2 separate regions of the Homo sapiens genome follow, and region 1 is linked to region 2. Evidence: promoter capture Hi-C in human tissues and cell types (Jung and others, 2019). All regions are on one chromosome and are shown on one strand. Each heading gives the region's core, a stretch centred on a gene start or on the middle of the fragment in contact. The rest is flanking DNA. Distances are from core to core; before and after follow the strand shown.

Region 1 (5,097 bases), core at 1,349-3,848, 520 kb before region 2:
GCTACTGTTGTCAGAGGAGTTTGAACCACAGTGATTCCATCTTGAATAGGGGGTGGGTAAAATGAGGCTGAGACCTGCTGATATTGACAGGAGGCAGCCAATTGCCTAGGCCAATAGGGGCGGGTCCGCGGTGAAACCCCACCTCCAACCCGAAGACGGTTTAAAGCCTGAAACTGAAGGTACAAGTTTAAACCTTAGACCGGATTGAGAGCTTACCTTCCTGTTTGTCGCGCTTTCCTCTGATTGATCCCCACCCTTCGCCTATTTTACATATACCCACCCTTTCCTAATTGGTTTTCTACTCTTTCTTTTTTTTTTTGACAGAGTCTCGCTCTGTCACCCAGGCTGGAGTGCAGTGGTGCAATCTCGGCTCACTGCAATCTCCACCCCCCGGGTTCATGTCATTCTCCTGCCTCAGCCTCCCCAGTAGCTGGGACTACAGGCGCCTGCTACCACGCCCGGCTAATTTTTTGTATTTTTTAGTAGAGATGAGGTTTCACCGTGTTAGCCAGGATGGCCTCAATCTCCTGACCTTGTGATCTGCCCGCCTTGGCCTCCCAAAGTGCTGGCATTACAGGCATGAGCCACCGTGCCCGGCGGTTTTCTACTCTTTCATGACCACCTTTGAGTAGTGTCTTTGCTTTAACTCACCTCATTAGCATAAACTCCAGTGTGATCAAAAGGACTCATTATAAATAACAAAAGACATTCCTCCAACTCCTGGACTTAAGGGATCCCTCAAGCAAGCCTCAGCCTCCTGAATAGCTGGGACTACTCCTTTTTGCATACTCACAAGCCAATCAGCACACACTCCCCACCCTGTGCCTATAAAGGCTCCAGACTCAGTCAGCAGGGGAAAAGACGACCTGACTTCGGGGAAGGCAGCCTGCACTTCCCATCCCCTCTCCAGCTCCCCTCTCCACTGAGAGTCGCTTTCATTGCTCAATAAAATTCTCCACCTTCATCATCCTTCAATCGTCCGTGTAACTTCATTCTTCCTGGATGCTGGACAAGAGCTTGGGACCCAGTGAGTGAGGATACCCAGAAAGGCTGTCACACTGGGCCTTTGCCCTCGCCTGTGAAGGGCAGCTGTCCCCATGTGATGAGGCAAGGGGCCAGCTGATCTGCTGACATGTCACCATCTGTGGACAGCAGAACTAAAGGAGCACTGTAATAACACCCCCTCTGCAGCTTCGGGGACACGGGCACCCTCACCTAGGTGCTGCTGCTTTCCCCTCAAGGTGACATGCCTGCTCTGGCCATGGGCCCTGCATACAGCTTGCTCCTGTGTTGGTGCCTGGAGAAGCCAGCTGGCCAGATCCCACACTTAGTCACTTGTGTGCTCCCTCCTGCAAGGGGTTGAGCACAGGGGGCTGAGTAGATGGGGCATCCCTTCCATGAGTCCAGCGAAGGTGCCTAGAAAAACCCTGCATCACCACTGAGCTACTTTCCCAGGAGGTGAGGCATTCCCAGTCACAGGATGACACAGGAGGGTGGCACAAGACATAGGTGACAAAAAACCTTGCTGATAAAACAGGTTGCAGCAAAGAAGCCGGCCAAAACCCACCAAAACCAAGGTGGCGATGAAAGTGACCTCTGGTAGGCTGGGTGCGGTGGCTCAACGCCTATAATCCCAGCACTTTGGGAGGCCCAGGCGGGCGGATCACCTGAGGCCAGGAGTTTGAGACCAGCCTGACCAACATGGAGAAACTCCGTCTCTACTAAAAATACAAAAAATTAGCTGGGCGTGGTGGCACATGCTTGTAATCCCAGCTACTCAGGAGGCTGAGGCAGGAGAATTGCTTGAACCCGGGAGGCGGAGGTTGCAGTGAGCCAAGATCGTGCCATTGCATTCTAGCCTGGATGACAAGAGTGAAACTCCATCTCAAAAAATAGAAAGAAAGTGACCTCTGGTCGTCCTCACTGCTCATTATGTGCTAATTATAATATATTAGCATGCTAAAGACACTCCCATCAGTGCCATGACAGTTTAGAAATGCCGTGGCAACATCAGGAAGTTACCCTATATTGTCTAAAAAGGGGAGGAACCGGCCGGGCGCAGTGGCTCATGCCTGTAATCCCAGCACTTTGGGAGGCCAAGGCAGGTGGATTGCAAGGTCAAGAGTTCAAGACCAGCCTGGCCAAGATGTGAAACCCTGTCTCTACTAAAAATACAAAAATTAGCTGGGCATGGTGGCGGGCGCCTGTAATCCCAGCTACTCCAGAGGCTGAGGCAGGAGAATTGCTTGGACCCAGGAGGCAGAGGTAGCAGTGAGCTGAGATTGCACCATTGCACTCCAGCCTGGGTGGCAGAGCAAGACTCTGTCTCAAAAAAAAGTGGGGAGGAACCCTCAGTTCCAGGAATTGCCCGTGCCTTTCCCAGAAAATTCATGAATAATCCACCCTTGTTGGGCATGTAATCAAGAGATAACTATAAAAAATATCCAGCCAGCAACCTTAGGGGATGCTCTGCCTATGGAGTAGACATTCTTTGTTCCTTTACTTTCTTTTTTTTTTTTTTTTTTGTGAGATGGAGTCTCACTTTGTCATCCAGGCTGGAGTGCAGTGGTGCAATCTTGGCTCACTGCAACCTCTACCTCCCCAGCTCAAGCGATTCTCCTGCCTCAGCCTCCCAAGTAGCTGGGATTACAGGCGTATGTCACCACGCCCAGCTAGTTTTTGTATTTTTTAGTGGAGACAGGGTTTCACCATGTTGGCTAGTCTGGTCTTGAACTCCCAATCTCAAATGATCCGCCCACCTTGGCCTATCAAAGTGCTGGGATTACAGGTGTGAGCCACTGTGCCCAGCCTATTCCTTTACTTTCTTAATATACTTGCTTCCACTTTACTCCATGGACTCGCCTGGAATTGTTTCTTGCGTGAGATTCAAGAACTCTCTCTTGGCTGGGTGTGGTGGCTCACGCCTGTAATCCCAGCACTTTGGGAGGCCGAGGCAGGTGGATCATGAGGTCAGGAGTTTGAGACCAGCCTGACCAACATGGGGAAACCCTGTCTCTACTAAAAATACAAGAAAATTAGCCGGGCGTGGTGGCACGTGCCTGTAATCCCAGCTACTCAGGAGGCTGAGGCAGGAGAATCACTTGAACCCGGGAGGCAGAGGGCGCCACTGCAGTCCAGCTTGGGCAATAGAGTGAGACCCTGTCTCAAAAAAAAAAAAAAAAAAAAAAGATTAAAAAAGAACCCTCTCTTGGGGTCTTGATTGGGACTCCTTTCCAGTAACAGTGTGAAAGAAAAATAAAATCACCAGACCCCAAACTCACTATGTCAAAGGGCAAAAAGCTAAGCTTAGGAACTGAGTCATACAGGAAACTGCATTTTCTTTTGTTCCTAACCAGATAGCTGCAAGATTGAATGCCACGTATCTCCACAGGTGGCTTCCCTCACCCTGACCATGTAAATTCAGCTTACCTTCACAGGTACAGGACAAATAAAAAAATAGAAATCTGGCCAGGCATGGGGGCTCACACCTGTAATTCCAACACTTTGGGAGGCTGGGGTGAGAGAATTGCTGGAGCTCAGGGGTTGGAGATCACCCTGGGCAACCCAGTGAGAGGCTGTCTCTACGGAAAAGATTTTAAATTAGCCTGGTGTGGTAGTGCACACCTGTAGTACCAGCTACTCAGGAGGCTGCATTGGGAGTATTGCTTAAGCTCAGGAGGTCGAGGCTCTAGTGAGGTGTGATCGCACCGCTGCACTCCAACCTGAGCAACAGAATAAGACCCTGTCTCAAAAAAAAAAAAAAAAAAAAAAATCATGGCCGGGCGTGGTGGCTTACGGCTGTAATCCCAACACTTTGAGAGGCCAAGGGATCACCTGAGGTCACGAGTTCGTGACCAGCCTGACCAACATGGTGAAACCCCGTCTCTACTATAGACAAAAAATTAGACAGGCATGGTGGCACATGCCTGTAATTCCAGCTACTTGGGAAGCTGAGGCAAGAGAATCACTTGAGCTGAGGCGGCAGAGGTTGCAGTGAGCCAAGATTGCACCATTGCATTCCAGCCTGGGCCACAAGAGTGAAACTCTGTCTCAAAAAAATAACAATAATTTTTTTTTTTTTTTGAGGTGGAGTCTTGCCCTGTCACCCAGGCTGGAATGCAGTGGCACGACCTTGGCTCACTGCAAGCTCCGCCTCCCGGGTTCACGCCATTCTCCTGCCCCAGCCTCCCGAGTAGCTGGGACTACAGGCGCCTGCCACCACGCCCGGCTAAATGTTTTGTATTTTTAGTAGAGACAGGGTTTCACCATGTTAGCCAGGATGGTCTCAATCTCCTGATCTCATCATCCGTCCGCCTAGGCCTCCCAAAGTGCTGGGATTACAGGTGTGAGCCACCGCGTCCGGCCAATATTTTTCTTTTTTTTAAATCATACTTCCAGGCCAGGTGCGGTGGCTCACACCTGTAATCCCAGCACTTTAGGAGGCTGAGGTAGGCAGATCACAAGGTCAGGAGTTCGAGACCAGCCTGGCTAACATGGTGAAACCCTGTCTGTACTAAAAACTACAAAAATTAGCTGGGCGTGGTGGCACACACCTGTAATGCTAGCTACTCAGGAGGCTGAGGCAGGAGAATTGCTTGAGCCCGGGAGGCGGAGGTTGCAGTGAGCTGAGATCACACTACTGCACTCCTGCCTGGGGGACAAAGTGAGACTCTGTCTCAGAAAAAAATAATAATAATAAATCATACTTACCCCCACCCTAAGACAAAAGCATAATTGACTTCTTCCTCTACTCTGTGTTTACTTTATCTTGTGTAAAATACAGATATATTTAGCACAAGATGAATTCATAATTGACTGTTCCTTTTTCCCTCCTTTCACATGTGTTAAAAGAAAAACTTCAGCCAAATTAAATTTAAGGGAGTTTAATTGAGCAATGAACAATTTGTGAATCGGGCAGCCCCCAGAATCACAGCCGATTCAGACAGACTCCAGTGCAGCCATGTGATGGAAGAAGATTTATAGACAAAGGGAAATGACATACAGAAGTCAGTGAGGTACAAAAACAACTGGATTGGCTACAGGTCGGCATTTGCCTTATTTGAATATGGCTCAAACAGTTGGCTACATCTGACTGGC
Region 2 (5,279 bases), core at 669-3,168:
GAAGCTGAGGCAGGAGAATCACTTGAACCCGGGAGGTAGACGTTGCCGTGAGCCGAGATCGCGCCACTGCACTCCAGCGTGGGTGACGGAGCGAGGCTCGGTCTCAAAAAAAAAATTCCACTGTGAACCACTAAACAAATTCATAGAAGAAAGGAACTACCTTCCAAACGTTTTCACGATGATAAGAGTCATCTTGGCTAAATAAACTTCTGCCTTGCTAACTCACTTTGTAACATCCCCCCAAATTCTACTCCACGACTCCACTATACCCAGGAAATCCTTTCCCTGACCCCTCCAGGTGGAGAAACCACTCTCTCAACAAAAGATACTCACTGAAGTCCACAGCAGCTGAAATCTGCATCTCGTAGGCTGGCTGCTCTTACTAGAGTGAGTTATAGGCTTCTCAAGAGTTAAATTTGTTCCTAAATATATGCCAGTGGCACGTGGTATTGGGAATAGAGAATTTAATTAAATATTACTAAATGTCAATGAAATACAAGTGCAAAAAGAAAGTTGCTCTTGTGCAAACTTAATGAATGACTTTCGAGACAATCGACAAAGGAGAGTCACAATCTTATTAGGCAAGGACCGAAGGGATCCTAGACATTGTCCGGGAAATCGCAAAAATTCAGGCTTCTGTAATCAGATTGCTTCTCCGGTGAGCTTTACGCTCTCCATGTATTTTTCAAAAAAAATCCAACATGAAAATTCTAGAGGAGGCTTTATTGGGTGCGGTCTGTGCAAGAGAGACGATGGGGAATGCCAATCGGAGAACCCAGATTGAAAGGAAAGGTTTTTGGAACCCACATCAAAAGACTGGCTGCTCGGAAAGTTTTCTCGCTAGCGACAAAGGCTTGGAGGCTGGAAAAAGCGTCGTGGTCGCCACCTACCGAGAAGCGGCGGGTGGGGGGAGGATGGCCGTCGTGGCCCGAATCCCCAGTGGGTGGTACTGGGTGGGGGGGCGGGCGGGAATCAAAAAACCACTCAATCTCGTGCTTTACATAAACATCTAAAAATCGTCGGCCTCGGGGTTGTAAAGTTTTGGAGTTTAACTTAGGTGAACAGTAATGTCTCTCCATTTTCAAAACCCACCGGCTAATTCAAGTTGAGAAGCAAAAAATAGTGGTAGGGGGAGGAGTTTGAGTTAAATCGCATCGCGGTTGACAGAACAAAACAGGAGCTACGAGTCAGGATTTCTGCTCCCACTCCCTTGCAAGTTTCCTTCCAAATCCTGAGGGAGAGATAGAGGCGGAGGGTCTGGGGGAGGAATTAAAACACAAGGTCTCCTCCCCTCTCGCCTGTCCGAACTTGGGGGCAACGGTCTCTTTGGAGGCCAGCTTGGAAAACACTAGAGAGGAGTTCTTTGTGTCCTGGAGGGTGGTGCAAGGCGGAAGGACTCCCCTTTTGCAGAGCAAGGAGGGCGACGGCCCAGCCCGGGGCTCCCCGGCTTTTGCAGCTTCCCTGCCTCGCAATTTGCAAGGAATGTGGGGTGCAAGAGCAAGTGGCGGACTTGGACGGCGGCTGGCGCTCGGTGGGGACGACGCCGGAGCCACCACCCGTCCAGATTTCCGTTTCTGCACCCCGGCTCCCCTCCCCCACCCGGGCGGCCGCGCAGGCCCCAGGTGCAGCCATGTTCTCGCTCCCACCACCCTCGCCTCCATTGACAGCCCTTGCTGGAGAGGGCCGGGCGCCGCGCTTGCCTCGTCCTCGGGTTCGGGGCTAGCCGGCGCGGTGCTTCCTGGGAGTTGTAGTCCACGACCGCCGCCGCCGCGTTGACGGGGAACGCATCCGAAACTACAACTCCCGCTGGGCGGCGCTGCGGATGCGCAGGCGCAACGCGCCTTCGAGGAACAAAAAAAAAAAAAAAAAAAAAAAAAAAGAAAAAAAAGAAAAAAAAAAGGAGGAGGAGGAGGAGGGTGAGAGAGAAGCTGGGAGAGCAGAGAAAAGGGGCCACCGGTCGCCCCCCCGCTTCCCCGCACGCGCTCTCCAGCCGCGGCCGCCCGCCTGCCGCGGTCACCCCGGCCTCTGCCTCTGTCCCCCAGTGATCGGATCAAGGCGCTGAGCGAGGCCCTGCCTGCGGGGCGGCCATGCGGCGGTGACAGGAGCGCGACCGACACGCACGGGCCCCTCGCCCCCTCTCGCCTCCCGTCCGCTCGCCAGCTCCCCTCAGCCGAGGCTGCTCCGCGGCGGCCGCAGCCCGCGCGCGGCCCACACTCGCCTCCCCTCGGCACCCCCGGCCCCGGAGCTGCCTGGAGGCGGCCGCACTCGGGTGAGTCCCTCTCGCCTCATCCCCGCGCCCCCCGCCCCCGCCTCGGGGGCCATTGCGAGCGGGGGCCTTTATTAGAGACTTTGCCCCGCCGGGGCCTGCAGGGACAGGGGCCTGGGAGCCGCGGCCCGCCGCGCGCGGTGTGGGGCCTTGGGGGGCGCCCGTGCCGCCTCCCCCTACCCCCACCCCCACCGCCTCGCCGGGTCTCGAGCCCCGCCGGCCTTGGCAGTGGCCGAAACGAGGCGATGGGGGTGGGGCGGCACGGACGCGGTCGCGGGGGACGACAGTGGCACGCGCGCGCCTCAGTGCGCGTGGGGGAGGGGCGCGCGCGCCGACCGGCGTGCGGTGGGGGGGCGCCTCGCGCGTGCGATCCCGCGCGCGAGCGAGCGAGCGGCCCTGCGGGCTGCGCATGCCCCGCCGCGCTGATTGGCCGGCTAGGCGGTGCGGGGGCGCGCGCGGTGCCAGGCCCGAGCCGTCGTGGGGTCGCGCTCGCCTGGTGTATCTGGGGCTCCTGCGCCGGGGCAGCAGACGCGCGGGATTGGCCAACCGGCGCGGGGGCGGGGCCGCGCGTTGCCTGGTAACTGCGGCGGGCGGGGGAGCGGGAGCGCTGTCCCCCGCCCCGCCCCGCTCCCAGGTGGAGTCCGCAGTGGGCTTTGTCCCGGGCCGGCCCGGCGCGCCTGCCCCGCGGGGCCTGTTCTTTGGGGGAAATAAACACAATGACCGGAAGGAAAACTTCAGCTTTAGGCCATGAAAATTAAGCCGTCTGGGTTCAGCCAGCACCCAGACGACGGGAGTGCAGAGGAAGAAGGAAAATGAAATGGAAAAAGCTGTCTCCTTCCCGCTCCCCGACTTCTCCACTTTTTCTTAATCCAGCTTTTGCTTTTTCGTGTAGCGAATTTTGTCCTCCCTAGGTTATGGATTTGCGCTGATTTGCGGCTGGGGATGTTCACAGGTGGGGTGCTGTTGGAGTAGTGTCCACTCTTGGCGATGCGCAGCTCTTGCTGACTACTGACCTCCTTTTTTTAAAAAAAATTATTTGTGGAGATGCGTTCTCACTTTGTTGCCCAGGCTGGTCTTGAACTCCTAGGCTCAAGCGATCCTCCCACCTTGGCCCCCCATAGTGCTGGGATTACAGGTGTGAGCCATCGCTTTCGGCTTAATTTTCTTTTTTTTTTTTAGAAACAGGGTCTCTCTGTGTTGCCCTGGCTGAAGCGCAGAGTGGCACAATCATAGCACATTGCAGCCTCCAACACCTGGGCTCCAGCGATCCTCCTGCCTCAGCCTCCTCAGTGGCTGGGACTACAGGCGCATGCCATCATGCCCTGCTAATTTTTTTTTTTTTGAGATGGAGTCTCACTCTGTGGCCCAGGCTGAAGTGCACTGGTGTGATCTCGGCTCACTGCAACCTCTGCCTCCCGGGTTCAAGCCGTTCTCCTGCCTCAGCCTCCTGAGTAGCTGGGATTACAGGCGTGCCCACCACGCCCGGCTAATTTTTGTATTTTTAGTAGAGATGGCGTTTCACCATGTTGGCCAGGCTGGTCTCCAACTCTTGAATCAAGCTGAAAGCAATCGGCCCGCCTCGGCCTGCCACCAAAGTGCTGGGATTACAGGCGTGAGCCACCGCCCTGGGTCACGCCTGGCTAATTTAAAATTTTTTTTTAGAGATGGGGTCTTCTTGTGTTGCCTAGGCTGGTCGGGAACTCCTGGACTCTGGTGATCCTCCCGTTTAGGCCTCCCAAAGTGGTGGGAGTACAGGCTTGAGCCACCACGCTGGGCCTCATCTCTTTTAAATTCAACTTTGCCGCAGACAATGGCTTGATCAGCCAACAGTGCAGAGGAGAAGTCTCCAGTCCTTCAGGGAACAAAAGGGGAAGTTAGTTTGCAAATGAGAACGTGCAGGTAGAGTGCCCTGCGGAGGCGGGGTCTTCTCCCCAGGCTGAGGCCTGTGGTGTGGGATGACCGATTTTATTTCCTGCTACAGGATTTTTCTGTGGCTGCTACCTTGGCTTTCGTTTCTCCTCCTCCTTGAGATCTTGGTCTTTTGGCTGGAATGACATTTTTCAGCCTATGGAAATCTTTCTTGCTCATATGCAGCCACTTCCTTAAGGTCTTCTCTTTTTTTTTTTTTTTTGCTGCTGTTGTTGAGAGGGTTTCGTTCTATCCCCCCAGGCTGGAGTGCAGTGGCGCGATCTTCGCTCACTGCAACCTCCACCTCCCGGGTTCAAGCGATTTTCCTGCCTCAGTCTCCCCCGAGTAGCTGGGATTACAGGCGCCTGCCCCCAAGCCCCGCTAATATTTGTATTTTTAATAGAGACGGTGTTTCGCCATGTTTGTCAGGCTGGTCTTGAACTCCTGACTTCAGGTGATCCGCCTGCCTCGGTCTCCGAAAGTGCTGGGATTACAGGCGTGAGCCACCGCTCCCGGCCTGTGGTCTTCTCTTATATTGCATAGTCAGAGTTTGTTCCTTCTTAGTCTCCCAATCAACTTGTGTGCCCTTCCTCGCAGGGCACCTTTATTTTCTCTCTTTTTTTTCCTTTTCCTTTTTCTTTTCTTTTCTTTTTTTTTTTTTTTCGGAAGCGGAGTTTCGCTCTCGTTGCCCAGGCTGGAGTGCAGTGGCGCGATCTCGGCTCACTGCAACCTCCGCCTCCCGGGTTCAAGCGATTCTCCTGCTTCAGACTCCTGAGTAGCTGGGATTACAGGAGCGCTCCACCACGCCCGGCTAAGGGCACTTTTACTTTCCTCTGCATCTGGCCTAGTCACTGGGTGTTGAGCTCGTAGGGGCAGGGACAAGAAGCCTTTTCCTCCTATGTCTTTCTCCCTCCACTTCCCCCTCCAGTTTGGCATCGTCCTCGTGCCTTGCCGGTGGTAGCAATGCTGCTTACATTTGAGTGTCTTCCGTGCCCCCTCCATGGCTCTTGAGCGCTTTGGATGTACAGTATTTTTCTTATTTAATCTTTGTGACAAGTCTGTAATTCTATTCTATAGAGCGGAACAAGTCTAGAGAAGTTGGAGA

Evidence for each region. Contacts are between HindIII fragments. The study calls those that stand out against the background at their distance.
Region 1: a fragment that was not itself captured here is called in contact with the fragment with the promoter of GTF2I in region 2 in 2 of the 25 tissues and cell types used here (pancreas and spleen).

What each region holds. Positions count from the first base shown.
Region 1 is chr7:74,138,523-74,143,619 of GRCh38, forward strand. No RefSeq gene overlaps it. Among named protein-coding and RNA genes, the nearest start is that of EIF4H, 33 kb to the right of the region's middle. RefSeq lists an enhancer at 303-832. The HindIII fragment of the contact is 5,476 bases long and covers 1-5,097 here.
Region 2 is chr7:74,655,800-74,661,078 of GRCh38, forward strand. It overlaps GTF2I (general transcription factor IIi), which reads left to right and starts at 1,919. Exons shown (of 35, transcript NM_032999.4): 1 at 1,919-2,269. RefSeq lists silencers at 1,469-1,628, 1,999-2,178, 2,199-2,488, 2,559-3,078 and enhancers at 1,709-1,828, 1,849-1,898, 3,849-4,078, 4,349-4,488. The HindIII fragment of the contact is 40,491 bases long and covers 1-5,279 here.